Regions from separate parts of the Homo sapiens genome. Here all the other regions are linked to region 3. Evidence: promoter capture Hi-C in 16 types of primary human blood cells and fetal thymus (Javierre and others, 2016). All regions are on one chromosome and are shown on one strand. Each heading gives the region's core, a stretch centred on a gene start or on the middle of the fragment in contact. The rest is flanking DNA. Distances are from core to core; before and after follow the strand shown. Region 1 overlaps PALD1 (phosphatase domain containing paladin 1). Region 2 overlaps AIFM2 (AIF family member 2). Region 3 holds the start of LRRC20 (leucine rich repeat containing 20). Region 4 overlaps PPA1 (inorganic pyrophosphatase 1).

What was found. Contacts are between HindIII fragments. The CHiCAGO score rates a contact against its expected background, and 5 or more counts as called.
Region 1: a contact is called between a fragment that was not itself captured here and the fragment with the promoter of LRRC20 in region 3, in 1 of 17 cell types (M2 macrophages). The highest score is 5.9, in M2 macrophages.
Region 2: a fragment that was not itself captured here is called in contact with the fragment with the promoter of LRRC20 in region 3 in 1 of 17 cell types (activated CD4 T cells); the score reaches 5.9 in activated CD4 T cells.
Region 4: a fragment that was not itself captured here is called in contact with the fragment with the promoter of LRRC20 in region 3 in 9 of 17 cell types (total CD8 T cells, neutrophils, monocytes and 6 more); the score reaches 7.4 in total CD8 T cells.

Annotation. Positions count from the first base shown.
Region 1 is chr10:70,544,343-70,548,701 of GRCh38, forward strand. It overlaps PALD1 (phosphatase domain containing paladin 1), which reads left to right. Exons shown (of 20, transcript NM_014431.3): 18 at 2,964-3,104. Among named protein-coding and RNA genes, the nearest start is that of PRF1, 56 kb to the right of the region's middle. The HindIII fragment of the contact is 5,823 bases long and covers 1-4,359 here.
Region 2 is chr10:70,126,289-70,130,913 of GRCh38, forward strand. All of the region lies in intron 1 of AIFM2 (AIF family member 2), which reads right to left. Among named protein-coding and RNA genes, the nearest start is that of AIFM2, 4.2 kb to the right of the region's middle. The HindIII fragment of the contact is 3,881 bases long and covers 1-3,397 here.
Region 3 is chr10:70,381,083-70,385,890 of GRCh38, forward strand. It overlaps LRRC20 (leucine rich repeat containing 20), which reads right to left and starts at 1,543. Exons shown (of 5, transcript NM_001278212.2): 1 at 1,467-1,543. RefSeq lists enhancers at 754-1,373, 1,218-1,417, 1,948-2,047 and a silencer at 1,448-1,817. The HindIII fragment of the contact is 9,077 bases long and covers 1-4,808 here.
Region 4 is chr10:70,209,511-70,214,402 of GRCh38, forward strand. It overlaps PPA1 (inorganic pyrophosphatase 1), which reads right to left. Exons shown (of 11, transcript NM_021129.4): 6 at 3,953-4,079; 7 at 48-175. Among named protein-coding and RNA genes, the nearest start is that of PPA1, 21 kb to the right of the region's middle. The HindIII fragment of the contact is 4,068 bases long and covers 1,216-4,892 here.

The DNA.
Region 1 (4,359 bases), core at 787-3,286, 160 kb after region 3:
GTGGGGGCCCATATTGTGAAGGCCCTGGAGGTTTGCACTATGTGTTTGACCTTGACCGTGAGGCCAGGAGGGAGGCAGAGGAGGTTGTGATCAGGCTCTCAGTCTGGGGGCCCCAGCAGGCAGTTATATGTGGACTGGGGAGTGGAGGGAGAGGCAGGAGCTGAGTGAGGAGGGGCTGCAGGGTGAGCAGGAGCAGCCCAGTCCTCATTGGTAGGTCTTGAGGGCTCCTGGATGTGGGGTGAGGAGGGCACCTAGGATGACCTCGAGTTTCTGGCTTTGCAGTAGTGACAGCTGTCGATGTGGAATTCAGGGGAGGAACAGCTGCAGCAGAGGCCAGGAGTTGGGTTCCCTGTGAAGAGCTGCAGCCCTCTGTCTGAGGTGGCCCCCAGAGGACGCAGTTCCCTGCACCCTCCTGGGGACCTGCCTAGAGCTTGGGATTGGGGATGTGGACTGGACAGCTCCCTCCTACTCCCCTGGGCACAGCCTGAGCCAGATCTGCCACTAGTTCCTTCCAGACTGTTCCTTTTTCTCCTCCCACTTGGTTGCAACTCCATGCCTGCTGGGGTGCCCAGCACCAGGCCAGGACTCTGAGAAACGCAGGAGTTGGGGAAAGGCCCTTCCCTGTTCTTAAGTGGCAGCCAGAGAGAGAAGAGAGCGAGTTAGGTGTTCATTCATTCACTGGGCAGCTGATGCTGGGGCACCGGGCAGGTGCCAGGCACCACTCCAGGTGCCGGCAGAAAGCCCCTCACTTAGTGGGGAGCAGGTGTGAAAGTGGAAGCAGATGAGCAGGTGGCTGTCGACCACGGGACAGGGCGCTGTGGGGACCTTGCAGGGTGGTGGGGGTAGGTGGTGGGAGGGGTTATGGGTGATGCTGGAGAGGTAGGCTGGACCCAGTGGTGCGGGGAGCCTTTAGACCCCAGTTTCTGTGCTGAGTGTAAGAGAGCCATGAAGAGATCAAAGCCCGGGGATTATACAACATGGGTTCACATTTATACTTTCGTAAGACCTCTCTGGCCACCAGGGAGAGGGAGGGCGGGGAGGAGGTGGAGACGCTGGTCAGAAGGGTACTGCTGTGGAGGCAAAGGGGGATGGGGGTCTGGATCAGGTGCCAGCTGTAGAGAGGTGCAGTGTAGACAGATTTGGAGGGGAACTCAGCACAGGGTGGCTGGGAGGGCCTGTGGGGGAAAAGCCATAGAGTAACCTAAACAGGCTTCAGTTTTCCCAGCAGTAAGGGGCAGATTATATCATTTTTTTTCTTTTTTCTTTTTCTTATTACTCAGAGATGGGGTCTCACTATGTTGGCCAGGTTGGTCTTGAACTTCTGGCCTCAAGCGATCTCCCCACCTCGGCCTCCCAAAGTGCTGGGATTACAGGTATGAGCCACTGCACCTGGCTGGGGTGGGGAATTATATCAGATGAGTGGTGTCCAACTCTGAGCGTCTGCGCAGTGGCTGGGGGCTGCTGCAGGTTAGGAGGAGGGTGGGGAGGCTTCTTACACCCCCTCCTCACCCCTCCAGCCCTAGTACGTGACAGCTATCTGTTTTATAGATCAAAGTTCTGCATGAGGCCTCATTTGAAGCAGGATTTCTACTGCTTAAAAAATAAGCACCTCGACCAGGCGTGGTGGCTCATGCCTGTAATCCCAGCACTTTGGGAGACTTAGGCGGGTGGATCACCTGAGGCCAGGAGTTCAAGACCAGCCTGGCCAACATGGTGAAACCCTGTCTCTACTAAAAATACAAAAATTAGCTGGGTGCGGTGGCAGGTGCCTGTAATCCCAGCTACTCGGGAGGCTGAGGCGGGAGAATTTCTTGAACCTAAGAGGCAGAGGTTGCAGTGAGCCGAGATCTCACCACTACACTCCAGACTGGGTGACAGGGCGAGACTCCATCTCAAGCAAAACAAAACAAAACAAAACAAAAATAAGCACCTTAGATCAGCTTAACATTCCATGGGTGCATTGGGGTGGTTTTTGTATCATGTAATACAAAGCATACAAAATGGCAATTTGGAGTCACAGTCGTGCATTTAATATGTCTTGAACATCTTAAATGACTTATATTCCCATGGTTTTTTTTGTAGAATTATTTCTAATGTAAACCACTTCTTGATTGTGGCTCTCCTGTGAGAACTGTGTGCACTCTGTGATGTCTTTGGCTGTGGCAGTCCCGTTTTCCTAGTAACTCTATTGATGTGCTTGGACACTGAAAATCTGTGTAGTGTGCAAGACATTAAGTTGTGGATTGGTGGGGCTTATGCCACAGTTTATCAACACTTGAAAATACTGGTACTTAATATCTTCTTAAAGAACAATTTGCCTCCAAATTTTAAGCTGGAAAGTTAATGGAATAACTTTCCAGCACTTTGGGAGGCCAAGGGTGTGGATTGCTTTAGCCCAGGAGTTCGAGATTAGCCTGGGCAACATGCCAAAACCCCGTTTCTACTAAAAGTACAAGATATTAGCCAGGCGTGGTGGCATGGGCCTTTAGTCCCAGCAGCTCAGGAGGCTGGGGTAGGAGGATCACCTGAATCCAGGAAGTTGAGGCTTCAGTAAGCCCTGATCATGCCACTGCACTCCTGCCTGGATGACAGAGTGAGACTCTGTCTCCAAACAACAACAACAACAACAACAATAAATGTCAATGGAATAACTAAAAAGGAATCATAATCCATGCCTTTTTTAGATATTCGGTACAAATTCAATGTCTGTGTACTGATCCTCAACACAACCAATAAATCCCAATTGTGGAGGAAAAAGAAAAGCATCTGGGTAGCCTGGCCCCGGAGATGTTCAGGATCCCCCTGTCCTCCCTCAGTCTGAGAACTGAGGAGCAGGCAGGGCTCTCTGTTCAGCGCCTGGGCCTTAGGCCTGGTGTGGCCTTTTGGTGAGGGTGCAAGCCTGGTGCTTGGGCTGAGGGCTCTTACCAGTTTTATGTCTGCTCACCCCCCTTCTCTGGCCCCAGGTAGTAATGAAGGTGGTGCAGCTGCTACCCGATGGGCACCGTGTGAAGAAGGAGGTGGACGCAGCGCTGGACACTGTCAGCGAGACCATGACGCCCATGCACTACCACCTGCGGGAGATCATCATCTGCACCTACCGCCAGGTGAGCCCCCACCCCACCCCACCCCACCCTGCCCCAGCCACCCTTCCAGGTGTGCACAGCCAGGGAGTGGCTGATGTGGCTTTGGGGTTGCTAGGGGTCCTAGGGGCCCCTCCTTGGCTCGTGGTCACTTTTCCACCTTCTGGAAGTGGAAGTGATCCATGAGATGGACACATCCCCAGCCCCGACCCACTGGTATGGGTACCAGATTCTGGAGTGGTAGGGGAGATGCATGCAGGGGCCATGTTCAAAGCATTCAACAACTGCTGTGGCCCTAGGACCAATCAAGGATGTGGCCAATCAGAGTGAACACCCAGGAGCCCTGTGGTGCCAGGCGTTAACCCTCTTGTTTCTGGGTCCTGGCGGGGGGACCAGAGGTCCCAGACAGGAGTCAGGTAGTGGGTGGGTGGAGACCCTCAGGGTCTTGGGGTGGCTGTTTCACAACTAGCACGGAGGCTGTCATCTCAGGACGTGGGTATGTCTGTGCTGCCCTGGGGCTGGGGCTGGCTCCCAGATGGGGTGTTTTTTATCTGTAAAAATTGTTTTTAAATAACTCATTACATTATAAAAATAAAGTTTTGGCCAGGTGCAGTGGCTCACCCCTGTAATCCTAGCACTTTAGGAGGCCGAGACAGGCAGACCACCTGAGGTCAGGAGTCAGAGACCAGACTGGCCAACATGGTGAAACTCCATCTCTACTGAAATACAAAAATTAGCCGGGCATGGTGGCAGGCGCCTGTAGTCCCAGCTACTCGGGAGGCTGAGACAGGAGAATTGCTTGAACCCGGGAGGCGGAGGTTGCGGTGAGCCAAGATCGTGCCATTGCACTCCAGCTTGGGTGATAGTGAGACTCCTCAAAAAAAAAAAAGTTTCATAATAGTCCAGATTTCATGTAACCATCTGGATTTTCAGCCTATCTGGAAAGAATGTGCCCTCAAGCCTGCCTGGGTCCCCAATACTCCCTGCTCTGTTGCACTCGGCCCTACTGGACCAGTCCCATGACCACAGGCTAGTGTGGGCTCTGGAGTTTTTGGCCTGGGTCTCTGTGTGGAGTATTCACTTCTGTTCCTCTCTGGCCCATTGAATCTGATTGGCTTCTGGAACAGAGGCCGGTGCTGAGTGGGAGGGGCAGTGGTGGGAGCCGGTGGGTAGGGGGTGAGGATTCCATGGTGCTGAGAGAGGGCTATATGTACCAGCCATGTGTTCCCCACTGCTGGCCAGCAATTCTCAGAAACAGCTCTTGCCTGTGGCCCCTGCA
Region 2 (4,625 bases), core at 207-2,706, 250 kb before region 3:
GAAACAAAACTCACACTATACAGAAAGCAGCCCCAGAGGCTCAACAGCTGCTGTGGGCTTCAGGAAGGGGGACTGGAGCGGGTGTCAGCGAAGGAGGAAGTAGACTCTGAGGTCAACCTTGAAGGATAGACATCAAGCCACTGAACAGCCTCATAAGGAAGTGTGTTCCAGCTCATCTGGGACCCTCAGGCCGCTGGAAGGCCACTGCACTGCCCTGATCATCTTTGCGGGTCTGGGGCACAACCCCTTCCCTCTCTAGGCCTCAATTTACCCCCTATAATGGGAGGGGACTATAAGGCCCAACCAGCTATAATATCCTGAGCTGTCCTCGTACACACTGGTTTCCAAGACATGGTGGTGGTTCCCCAAGACGGTCCCCAAATCATCCCACACTTATGGGGCAGCTTTTGGTTAGAACTCCGGGCACTGTTCCCATTGGTGTTCAAATGCCCACTGCCTAACTTCTCCCCTGGGGGCGGACAGTAGAGCGGACGGAGGGCACTGACACAATGGATTGGAGGGAATTTAAAGTTGTTTCTCGTGGGTCAAATGGTCCCCAAAGCATTGAGGCTTGAACATACCCATTTCACAGATGAGGAGGCTGAGCCCTCGTAGAGATTAGGACCCAAGACAACCCCCCGGCAGGCAGGGCCACCCTGGCTCCTCTAAGCCCTCAGAAGGGTTGTCTAGAGCTAATCCCAAGCGTACCTCAGGCTGAATCTGCCAACTGGGCCAGAAGGGAATGTCTCCTAGGGACCAGGACCCAGGAGGGCCCACAGGCCCAGCCAGAGGTAGCAGTGCACACCAGGAGCTGCGCAGGGCCTGAGAATGTAGGCAGTGATGAGGCAGGCCGTGGGTGGCGTGTGTTTCACCAGCCCCTGGCAGCGTGCAACCCTCTGTGCTGGGTCTTACCCTTGGGGCTGTCAGCCAGGGATGAGGTCAAGAAAACACCCAGAAAGCCCCACTTCCAAGTTAGCTGGGCATGGCCCCTGAGAGGGGCTACGCAGCTGGCCGGGGATAGGGACAGGGGAGTCCACTGTGCGTCAGGTCACACTGGAGCACCCAGGGACACTCAAAAAGGACAGCCTAGAGCCCTGAAAAAGAGCTGAGATCAGGGGGCCTTCCTAGCAGAGGAAACAACTTGGGCCAGAGGCCCAGTGGCAGGAAGGGAGGAGGCAGGTAGAGTTCAGGGCACCTGTGGCAGAAGGTGGAGAGGCTTAGAGGACAGGTGACAGGGGCCGACAGACAGACAGCCTGCCATGCCAGGGCAGCTTTGACAATCAGGTGGACATACAAGCCTGCTCCGGGCCCTTCATGGGGTTTCCTCCAGGGAAAGAAAGTCTAGTGACCCCAGAGTGGACCTCAGGGGCAATGAGTTGACCAAAGGAGCCAAGCCCTTGACCCCCAGGCCCCTAGTATCATCAACCTGCTTCCCCGAAAGGGCAAACTCTTGCCTCACCCAAGGAAGGCAAATTGCTTATCTGGGGTTCCCTGTGAAGGGCCTGGGGCCTGAGGGGACACCCAGACCAGAGCAGGGCCAGGGAGGGGAGGCACTTTTCCTCTTCAGGCTGCCTGAGGCCTCTCCTGCAATCTGCTCTCTCTCTCTTCTCTCTCCTCTACTGACCCCTGCCACGCTTACTTGTGGAATAGGGAGGCCAGTGACTCTCCAGCAGATTTCACCCTGCCTCTTTGGCAGCCCCTTGCCCAATACTCTTGGACATGCCGACTCTCTTTGGCTCTGCCAGTGTCGGTTCTTGCCTGGCCCCAGAAAACAGTGAACTCCCCTCTGCTTGGCCATGATCTACTTGGCCAGACACCTAAAGCAAGGGCTTAAGCCATGGAGCTGCATTTCCAGCCACACACCCTGTAGGAGATGAAAATGCACGTATGGAATTAGTGGATGCCCAGTTGTATGTTCTAACATAGCAGTAGTGCTGTGCAAACCTCCACCTGTGTGACACTCCATCAATCAATGGAAACTGCCACCAATGAGAGGCTACAGGATAAAATATTATAAACCCATACAATGCAGTACTGTGTAGCCAGTTGTTTTTAAAGGGTGAGTGATGTTTTGTTTTGTTTTTGAGATGGAGTCTCACTCTATTGCACAGGCTGGAGTACAGTGGCTCAATTTCAGCTCACTGACTGCAACATCTGCCTCCTGAGTTCAAGCAATTCTCCTGCCTCAGCCTCCCAGGTAGCTGGAACTACAGGCATGTGCCATCATGCCCGGCTAATTGTTTTTTGTATTTTTAGTAGAGTCAGGGTTTCGCCGTGTCGGCCAGGCTGGTCTCGAACTCCTGACCTCAAGTGATCGGCCTGCCTCGACCTCCCAAAGTGCTGGGATTATAGGTGCGAGCCACTGTGCCCAGCCTGTGAATGACGTTTTTATACAAAAAGTCTGTCCATGAAAAAGTCAGGCAAGGGCTGGGTGTGGTGGCTCCTGCCTATAATCCTAGCACTTCAGGAGGCAAAGGCAGGAGGACTGCTTGAGCCCAGGAGTTTGAGGCTGCAGTGAGTAACTTTACCTTTGCTCCCTCCCACAACACACACACACAAAGACACACATACACAATCTGATTTACACAAAACATGTTTTCAAGGTTCATCCAAGTTGTAGCATGGATCAGTGCTTCATACCACTGCACTTCGGCCTGGGCAACAATGTGAGACCCTGTCTCAAAAGTAAAAAAAAGAAAAGAAAAAGTCAGGCAATATTTATTTATTTATTTACTTATTTTTAATTTTCTTAGGGACAGGGTCTTGCTCTATCACCCAGGCCAGAATGCAGTGGCATGATCATAACTCATTATAACCTTGAACTCCTGAGCTGGCTAATTTTTTTTTTTTTTTTTGTAGAGATGAGGGTCTCACTATGTTGCCTAGGCTGATCTTGAACTCCTAGCCCCTCAAGGGATCCTCCTGCCTTAGCCTCCCGAAGCACTGGAATTACAGGGGTAAGCCACTGTGATTTCGAGCTGTAGAAAAGATTCAATGAGATCATTTACGTAAAGCATTTTAGCATGGTGCCTGGCACAGAGTAGCAATGAATACACAGCAGCCACGTTTTATATATATATATATAAAATATATGTTGCAGATTAGTTTGCCCAGTCCCAAAAAGTCAGGCCACAGAACCACATGAAAGATCTAATCCCATTTATGGCCAATAAGACACATCCACCTCGGTATGTATACACATATACAGGTAATGATTACAGCAGTTAGCATCTGTTGCACTTTTGCCCATATCTTCGATTTAAGGTATGAGTTTTTTCTCCTTATTTTGGAAAAAAGTTCAACAACTTGCCCAAGTTCAATTCTCAACACATCAAACCTGCTGTCTGAACCAAAGTGCTAATAGTGGTCATAGATAATGTTTTCATTTTCTTCCTTAAGCTTTTGTATTGTTTGAATTTTTTTCAAACAAGCATATGTCATTTTTGCAGAAATAATGTCTTTAATAATAGGACAGACCGCTTACCATCTAATTTTTTAATCAAAATAGAATTCACATATACAATTTACCACTTAAGATGTAAGTTCACAGTGAGCTATGATTGCACCACTGCACTCCAGCCTAGATGAGACCCCATCTTTTAAAAAAAAAAAATGAGATGTAGGCTGACTCACACCTCTAATCCCAACACTTTGGGAGGCCAATGCAGGCAGATTGCTTGAGCTCCGGAGTTCCAGACCAGCCTGGGCAATATGGTGAAACCCCATCTCTACAAAAAATACAAAAATTAGCCAGGCATGGTGGCACATGCCTGTGGTCCCTGATATCAGGAGGCTGAGGTGGGAGGATCGCTTGAGCCTAGGAGGTCGAGGTTGCAGTGAGGCATGATCATGCCACTGCACTCTAGCCTGGGCGCCAGAGCAAGACTCTGTCTCAAAAAAAAATTTTTTTTAATTTAAATTTCAAAAAAAGATGTAAGTTCAGTGGGTTTTAGTGTATTCACCAGGTTGTGCAACCATCACAACTATCTAATTCCAGAACACTTCCATCACCCCCAAAATAAATCCTGTACCCCACCTACCCTAGCCCTGGGTAGCTACTAATGTTCTTTCTGTCTCTATAGATTTGTCTGTTCTAGACAATTCATGTAGATGGAATTATACACTATGTGGCTTTTTGTTTGCGACGTCTTCCACTGATCATCATGTTTTCAAGGTTCATCCGAGTTGTAGCATGTTATCAGTGCTTCATTCCTTTTCCTGGCTGAAAAACAGTCCATTACTGGTGTATGAATAGACCACATTTTGTTTATCCACTCATCAGCTGACGGGCACTTGGGTTGTTTCCACCTTTTGACTATGTGAATAACGCCACTATGAACATTTGTGTACAGGTTTTTGTGTGAACCAGTCTTCAGTCCTCTTTAGTATATATTTAGGTATGGAATTGCTGGGTCATATGGTAACTTGAAGTTTAACTTTTTGAGGAACTGCTAAATCCACCATCTGATTTTGAACTGAACACCAAAGCCCCAGTGGGAATCACAGAGAATCTTAACTATGTCTGTCTAGGTTCAAGAATGTTAGCTTAAAAGAAGGCCTAAGAGAGCGGAACAAACCCTGATTGTCCAGGAACCCCTCAGTAACTTTACCTTTGCTCCCTGCCA
Region 3 (4,808 bases), core at 293-2,792:
TTCTGTGTAGCGAACTAAGAGAAGTTTTTTGAGGAAGGCAGCCTAATCCATAGTTTTGCAAAGTTAACAGTGTTGTGAGCAGTCCCATTTGTAAAATGGAAATACCACCTTCCTCACCGGATTATTGTGGGAAGTAACTGATATGTAACTTTTGGGAAAGGACTTTGCGAACCATTACATGTTTCCCACACCAAGGCATTACCAGTAGGTAATCAAACAGGTGTAGAGAGGAAGTTTGGATGTAATAAATTCAATGCCAGACAAAAACGTTGTCCTGCTTTGGGGGAGCTGGCAATACAGCCCTCCTGTCCCTATAACCTGGTTTCACCTGGACTCAGGCTGGCTGGGGGAGGGGTGATTTTTGCTTAAACCCTGACCTGGCCCCCTGACTCCAGCCCTTACCATCAATAACTCTACCTTATCTGCAGTCCGGAGACCTCTGCAAAGGAGCCGCTGCGACAGCCCGTCCCCACCATCTGCTCCTATATTTAGTTACTGGTGTTGTCAGTTGGGAACGTTAGAGCCTGGCAGGGGCTCGGATGGGCAACCGGAGCCTCCGGAGCCATGTGTGCAAGCTGGCCCTACCGCTGGCTCCAGCCCGGGCTCTGGACCATGCCAAGCCGGGGAGCGGGTGGGGAGGTGAGGAGCGACCCAAATAGTCCCAAACCCCCCTTCAGATCAGAACGAAGTTGACCCACTTCCCCACCCCAGGGAAAGAAGCCCGCTGGGACGTGAGCGGGACCTGCTGGCGCCTTGTTTTTGTGGCATGGGGTTCGGGAAGCTCAGCGCGTGCTCCCTCGCTAACATCTAGGCATCCTCGGACTGAGCCTCCAGCACTACGCGCGGTAGCCAGGCAAGGGTCCCCCAGCCCCGCGTGCCAGGATCCGCCTCACCCCCGGTGCCTGCAGCCAATGGCACCTCGTCCGCTGGCCCGGCAGGCGGGGACTGGGAGAATAAAGCTGGCAGAGGGAAGAATGGTAGTGATCGCAGAGGCCCCGGGGCTCCCACGCTGCCCGGAGGCCGAGAGGCACGCTCTGGAGCAGGCGTCTGCAGCTCCCCAGAGCGGAAGCAAACCCCGAAAGTGTCGCTTCGGGGACGAAATGCACAGCAGCCTCTCCAAGCAAGGGCGCCTCCCGCGAGGAATGGAGGCCCGCCTGGGAGCGGTTCTCCGAGCTCCCTATTCCCTGGCACCTCTGCACCCACTCCCCTGAACCATCGGGGTCCAGGTGCAGTGAGCAAGCAAGAGCCCGCGCATGCCGAGCCCCTTGGCACCGCCAGAGCCTCCGCTGGTGCACCGCTGCTCTTTTCCACCGGGTGACCTGGGGGAGGGGAGGGGACGCTGCAAAAATCGGAACACTTCTCGCCCTCTCTCCCCCAGCCCCTGCAACGCTTGACCTCGGACTACATTTACTTTGCGGGGCAAGAAGCGTGTGGTCCCGCTCCGGGCCGCTTTTGGCTCCACTTACGGCGACAATGCCTCCTAGCGCCCTGCGCAGCGCAGTCACGCTCCCTCCGCCGCCGGCGGCGCCCCAGGCGAGTTCCGAGCCGGCGGGGCGGGGCGCGCGGGGCTGCGGGATCTGCGCGCGCGGCCACTCCGCCAATCCCGGCGCCAGGACCGGCGCCGCGGCGGGAGCAGGCTGGGCTCGGGATGCGCTCAGCCAATCAGTGGGGGAGCGGCGCGCGCGGGGGTGGCGCGCGGAAGGGCAGCCCGCGCGCTCCCGGCCGCAGGGAGTAACCGCTTTGTGTGCTGCTTCTAGAGGGAGAACGCCTGAGGGGGCGGAGATACAGAGTGGGACGCGCAGTACATCCCAGGATCTCTAGGACCGGGGCTCCAGATTGGGTTTTCTCGAGGGAATGGAGTTGAATTAGCCAGATCAGGGATACTTTGAAACACGTGAACATGGAGCATAGGGAAATTTTCCTATGATGACTTCGGGTGCCCATTGAGGTTTTTAGTATATGCAAGGCCCTGTGTCTCGGCCCTGCGTCTCCAATCCTAATGTTCTCATCTATAAAATATGACTTGAGGGCGGGGCGCGGCGACTCACGCCTGTAATCCCAGCACTTTGGGAGGCCGAGGTAGACGGATCACCTGAGGTCGGGAGTTCGAGACCAGCCTGGCCAACATGGCAAAACCCCCGTCTCTACTAAAAATACAAAAATTAGCCGGGCGTGGTGGCAGGCGCCTGTAGCCGCAGCTACTCGGGATGCTGAGGCAGGAGAATCGCTTGAACCCGGGAGGCGGAGGTTGCAGTGAGCCGAGATGGGCACTCCAACCTGAGTGGACAGAGTGAGACTCTGTCTCAAAGAAAAAAAAAAGAATATTTAATTCCGCCTCTAGGGGGTCTAGGCAGTCAAAGAACACACATTCCCTTGGGCCTCGATGGATGTTAAGGGTTACTTATGCCCTCTCCACCCCCAACAATATGTTAAAGTTCATCAGAATGTGATCTTATTTGGAAGTAGGGCCGTTGCAGATGTAATGAGTTAAGGTCATGCTGGAGTAGGGCGGGCCCCTAATCCACTGAGACTGGTGTCGTTGTAAGAGAAGAGACACAGAAGAGACGCACAGGGAGAACCACCTGTGGTGATGGCGGCAGGGATCAGCTGATGCATTTCCAAGGCCAGGAGTGCCAAGCACTGCCAGCAGGGACCAGAAGCTAGGAACGGGCAGGGAATAATTCCTCCTTCAGAGCCTCCAAAAAGGAACTAACCCTCCAGACACCTTGATTTTGGACTTAATAGCTTCCAGAGCTGTAAGTGAATAAATTTCTGTTGCCACCCAGTTTATGTCCATTTGTTATAGCAGCCCTAGGAAAAAACTACAATAGGTTAGTAGGAATAAAGAGAAGAGGATGATAAATATCTCCAAAGTAAGTCTTTTGAAACTGATTGCTTAGTATATGCAAAGCCTTGTGTCTTGGGGTATACTGACATGAATCAGACACAGACCCTGCCCTCAAGGGGTTACCAGTCAAGTGGATACTTAAGCAGCCATGTTTTCTGACCCCTTGTGCCTTCCCAGGGAAAACTATGGAGATCTCTCTCAACCCATCAACACCACATCCCTGCCAGATATATAGCAAGTACCAGATATAAATAACTAATGGGTAGAGTCCCATTCTGCCCAAGCCGAGATGCTGCTTGCCACTGTGGACAAAGCAGGCATAGCTACTTCTGTTTTCACTGAAAACCAGCATGACACTTCTACCCAACTTTTACACGTGGATGTCTTCTCTCCTCTGCTAGTCCATACGCAGACTTGAGACAGCCAGTACAGTGTTTCTGTACCCATGGTAAGGGCTCAGTATATACTGCTGGCTGATGGCCCCAGCCTGGGGTTTCCAACATTCATACTTTCCCTCAGACAGTCCCCTGTCCCAGGCAGTTCATCCTGGACCCTCTAACTCCACAGAGACAAGATCCCTCCCTAGCTCAAATCCACCTCTTCTATTCCTACTGTTTTTGCTTCTCCAGAGCACTTAGTGCATTATACCCATTATTCTATCATCTCTGCACAAGTCTTTACTCCCGAGAGTCTGCCTGATTGCAAATACCAGAGCTTGACGCATGTTCAGTGCTTGTATCCATCAGTGTTTCCTGCATAATAAAACACCCCAAAACTTAGTTGTGGCTTAAAACAATAACTACTTATTTAGTTCATGATTTTATGGGTCAGTATTTGAGGCTGGGCTTAGCTGGGCAGTTCTTCTGGTCTCAGCTGGACTCCCTCATGCATCCGGGTTCATCGCCAGGCAGTCAGAAGGCTCTGCTTCTGGGAAGTGGCTAGCTGCCAACTGAGGCAAGTAGGTCGCATGTCTCTCATCTACTAACAGGCTAGCCTAATTTGTTCACATGGAGCTGCAGGGCTCCGAGAGCACGAGTGGAATGGTGCAAGGTCTCTCAAAGTCTAGGCTCAAAATCGGCACTAGTCCACTTCCACAGTTGTATCGACTAAACCAAATGGCAAGGCCAACCCAGGTTCGAGGGTGAAGAAATAGACTCCATCTCCTGATGGGAGAAGCAGCGAAGTCACATTGCAAAGAATATGAGTACAGGGATGAGCAGAGAGTTGGGGCTAATTTTGTAATCTGTCACAGGACTCCATAAGTATTCTTGGGCTGGGCTCTGTGGCTCACGCCTGTAATCCCAGCACTTTGGGAGGCTGAGGCGGGAGGATCACTTGAGCTCACGAGTTCGAGAGCAGCCTGGCAACACGGTGAAACCCCATCTCTACAAAAAATACAAAAAGTAGCCGGGCATGGTGGCTTGGGCCTGTAGTCCCAGCTACTCAGGAGGCCGAGGTGGGAGGATAGCTTGAGCCCTAGAGCCCAGGAGGAAGACCAGGTCTCAAAAAAAAAAAAAGTATTCTCACAATACCTATTGGGTACTCAGAAAATACTTATCAACAGTGGTAAGATTTTCAGTCACTATGTTTACTGACTCCATTCAATGCAGTCAATTGGCAAAATATTATCCCTCACTGTTAGGGTCTACAAGCCTCACACCGTTCGTGGCCATTTTCAGTTTCAGAACAGCCAGTGAGGGAATCAGCGAGGTAGGGCTGTGCAAGGGAAGGCCCTGAGGCTTCTCGGTGAAGAAGCTCAACTGGCCCCAAACAAATAGTCTCCTCCGAGGAGATCCAGAGCATCTTTAGAGGCCTGGACCCCTTAGCAAGGTGGTCCAAGCCTGGCCACCTGAGTCAGAAGCTGTACACCCTGAACAGACTCGGATGTTTGCCAGGGCTTGGCTACAGCCTCCGGAGATGTTTGAAATCCTTGCAAATTACTTGCAGATAGGAAGAGTCT
Region 4 (4,892 bases), core at 2,000-4,499, 170 kb before region 3:
TCTCAATACAAATGAGCCTAAAGCTACAGTTCTGAATGACATATTACCTTATCTTTAAATTCTGCATTAAACGCAAACTCATTTTCTGGTTTTCCATCAGGAACCTTATACCTTCTAAACCAGTCCACAGTAGCTTCTAAGTAGCCAGGTTTCAGCCGTTTGACATCATTGATATCTAAGAAGAGAAGAAGCATAAGATGACAGTGAGAATGATTTTTTTAAAAAGAAAGAAGAGAATAAGCAGATTTCAAGATGCACAAATAATTATACACTCAACAAAAATTCCAAGTACTTATTTTGAAAGAGCTGTGGAATGACTTATCACGGAAGTTCAAGATAACATTGGAGCGAAGCCCCTTGTTGAGAAGAGAAGCCATACACATATACATTGAAAGAAAATCATCTAGTATCTCTGAATAGCTCTGACACTAAGTACAGAGAACAATCAGTACAATAGTAATCTCTGTTAGGTAAGGGCAAACAGCTGGTGGCTACATAATGAAACAACCAGTTTGGCAAATGTAGATAATTCCTATGAGAAGTGTACAAGATACTGAAAAAGACAGAGGTTATCTTTTTTTTTTTTTCAGAGACAAGGTCTCGCTCTGTCACCCACGCTGGAATGCAGTGGCCCGAACAAGGCTCACTGCAGCCTTGACCTCCACAGTTCAGCGATCCTCTCACCTCAGCCTCCTGAGTAGCTGGGACTATAAGCATGCACACGCCCAGCTAATTTTTAAATTTTTTGTAGAAATGGGGTCTCGTCATGTTGCCCAGGCTGGTCTCAAACTCCTGGGCTCAAGCAATCCTCCTGCCTTGGCTTCCCAAAGCACTGGGATTACAGGCTTGAGGTACTATCCCTGGTCCAGAGGCAGAGGCTATGTCAGAGGATCACAACACTATTACATACTAAAAGATAAGAAAAATAGATTAGATTGATATCCATTGATGGGTTACGTATTAAATGTGACTAGACTTTGCTGGATAGTACAGGCACTGTACATAACAATACTTTAGTTCTGGCTGACAGAAAAGTGCACTGCTTTAAAAATTTTAAGTTTCTGTATAGCCATCAACAATGGCTAGCCTCAATGTTATCAAACTGCACTTCAAATAACAAACTCCTGCTCAATGCAAGCAAACAGAGATACACATCCTAAAAAGTCAGTTAGGAAAAGTATTATGAGGAAGAGAAATACATTCAACAATAACAAAAGCTTATTTATATTTGTATAAGATAACATTGCTTCACTCCAATTTATTTTTTTTTTTTGAGAAGGAGTCTCGCTCTGTCTCCCAGGCTGGAGTGCAGTGGCGCAATCTCGGCTCACTGCAAGCTCTGCCTCCCGGGTTCACGCCATTCTCCTGCCTCAGCCTCCTGAGTAACTGGGACTACAGGTGCCCACCACCATGCCTGGCTAATTTTTTTGTATTTTTAGTAGAGATGGGGTTTCGTGTTAGCTAGGACGGTCTCGATCTCCTGACCTCATGATTCGCCTGCCTCGGCCTCCCAAAGTGCTGGGATTACAGGCGTGAGCCACCGCGCCCGGCCGCTTCAATCCAATTTATAATCTGCATAAAGAATAGCATGCATTCTATTATCATAATATCACTAAAAGTATGGAAACTTTACAGAATGCACTGGGAAATGTTTAAGCACTAGTAAATTTCAAAGAACTTATAATTTACATGAAATGTGTCACCTGATATAGAAATAATTTGGAAATCCAGAAATCCAACATGCAAATGTTGATGTTTTCCAATAACAGAAACTAATTCTCCAATTATTCAGACACCAACTGAGTGCTCAGTAATTCACTGTGATTCTGATACTATCTACCTGGAGTTAGCATCAGATCTCAAAGGTTAGGGGCTCAGTCTCACAAGACTGCCCCACTTCAGATGCCTCCTGTACTTTTGACTATCAGCTATAAATTAGGGGTTTCTACAATCCTCTCCCCAGGTCCCCTAATTTGCTAAAATGGTTCACAGAACTCAGGAAAACACTGAAGTTTAAATTTCGTTATATAAATACAACTCAGGGACAGCAAATGGAAGAGATGCACAGGGGCAAGCTATAGGATGGACAATAGACACTGCCTTAGGTTGACATTAGGGAAAGCTGCATACTACTTGCGCCATGGGACCAGCCACCCCGAGAAAGTTTTCAGGGTTCTAATAACCTGAACTGCAGGAAAATAAAGCCTTAGTAAATGAGTGCTGACAGAGTGATGGGCTTGGCTTCACTAATTGTGGCCACAGCATGCCAAGTTCTCTTGCATAAGAAGCACGTTGGAAATGCACACACGGACCAACAGAACAGAGCCGTACTACCAAGTAGTGAACAGATGGTGTGAATGCACTCTCACCTTTCAAAATTGAAACGAAACATTAAAGGATTGGCATTCTTCCAGTCCTTCTTCAATGAATTAACACAGATGCAAATATACATCACATCATTTTGAGGGAACATGCTCTCAAGGTGACTCTTATCACTGCTGACATTGACCTCCATCACCTGGCTGAGGCAGTGTTTGTCAAGTTTCTCTGCTCTAAAGTCATCCTCTCCTCTCCCTTACCCACACTGTACTCTTTGGAAGGAAGTCACCAGGCACAACTCACAATTAAGGACCTCCTTGAGAATGGAGTATCTGCATAAATTATTTGGAATTCTTCTGCTTTGAGATTTGTCTATTCTTCCTCATTTGTCTATTTATTCAATCATTTATTTGTCAGTATAGACTCATGGAGATTTATTTTATGTTCCAGGTTATATTACAATACTACTTTATTTTCTTGCTCAAAGTGTTCTAGCTTTGGCAACTCCTATGTATGTACCCAATAATAAAAACATAAGTCCACACAAAAACTTGTACAGGAATGTTCATGGCAGCATTACACAGCCAAAACAACCCAAATGTCCATCAACTGATGAATGGATAAACAAAATGTAGTATATCCACACAATGGAATAATATTCAACCATAAAAAGGAGTACTGACAGATGCCACAATATGCAATATGGATAAACCTAGAAAACATTATACTAAGTGAAAGAAACCAGAAACAGCAACAACAAAGATCCATATATTGTACCAGTCCATGTATATGAGATACCTAGAATAGGTAGAATAGGCAAAGCTATAAAGACAAAAAGCAGATTAGTGGCTGCCAGGGCCTGGAGAGGAGGAGGGAATAGGGAATGACTTGAACTAGTGGTGATGGCTGCACAACCTTGTGAATGAATGAAATGCCACTGAATTTCACACTTTAATTAAAATGGTGAATTTTATGTTATGTAAAATTTACCACCAAAAAAAAAAAAAAAGGGAATGAAGTGCTGATACATACTACAATACGGATGAATCCTGAAGACACTTACTTCGCTAAGTGAAATAAACCAGACACAGAGGCCACCTATATGATGCCATTTACATGAAATAACAGCATAGGCAAATCCATAGGCACAAAGTAGATCTGCAGTCATCAGGGACTGAGGGAAGGGGGACAGGGAGTGATTGCCCATGGATACAGGATTTCCTCTGGGCTGATGAAATGTTCTGCAATTAGAGAGTGGTGATGGTTGTACAACTTAGTGAATATACTAAAAACCACTGAATTGTACATTTTACAATGGTGACTCTTTGATATGTGAATATCTCAATTAAATGTTTTAAAATAAATAAACATACCAACTGAGTGCTGGTATGTGGGGAAGGAAAGGACCAAAAAAACAGTAAGAACCTACCAGATTTTTTCTTTCCTGGAATGAAGGAGAAAGTTTACTTAGTTAATTACAAGTGCAGTCATAGAAATAATGCTTGTCCAGTGCTTTGTTCCTCCATCCTTTAACAGTTTGAAGGTAAGGGCTTACAATTCTGTCATTATAGGTTAAGTATGGTGGTGCTTATGAATTAATTAGAAAGACTTCAGACTTTTCAAATTTTCTTACCATTATAATTGGCTGCATCAGGATCATCCACATTAATGGCAATGACTTTCCAGTCGGTTTCCCCTTCGTCAATCATAGCCAATATGCCTAGAACTTTCACGCCAATTATTTCACCTCTTGCACATACCTGAGAGTCAATAGCCAAAGTCAGGACAACATTACAGAACCACACTCTAGAAGACAGTTTTACTTGGCTAACAGGAAATAAGAAAGAGGCCAAGTTCTTGAGAATTTACCTGAAGATTGTTCCTTTAAGCAAATTTTAAAAACCTAAATGAGTAAATGTTTCATCAGTCCTATTAAAGTTGAAAACAGGACTTATAGGTCCTATTTTCTTCTAGGTCATAGGGAAACCAGTACATAGCTCAGGGTAATCAATGTTTTTTGCACTGTCATTGATTATACTGAAGAATAAGTCCTCCATAGTCTCAAATACGTATCTTAATATGCTTTACCTTTTATTTTATAAAAGTCATGAGTTAAGCAAGTCATACGATGACTCAAAAACTTTATGACTTAAAAAACAAAATGATAACTTTGTTTTTAGTTGTTTACTATTTCTCTGCACCTGAGAGAGACATAAAGAAATAACTATAATCAGAATCTTAGAACAACCCTACTTGATGGAGGAGTTACTACCATGGATCTCCAACTCATGAGGTTATTTGGTTCGGGTCAATTTACTGATCATTCTAAATTGTTAGGCAAGATTTGCCATGTTTTGAGAGGGAATTTCCCTCCTGGTACCTTTCACCTATTGACTAATTATCCATCTTCTAAAGCAATGCAGAACATGTCCAGTTCTTCTAGATATATGTTCAATCATACATACATAGACACATTTTTTTCCAGACTAGATTTAAATGTAAAAATTATAATATACAAATGCTTAAAATGCAAGAAGCCTTTAATACCAAAGAGACATCATTATTTCACTAAT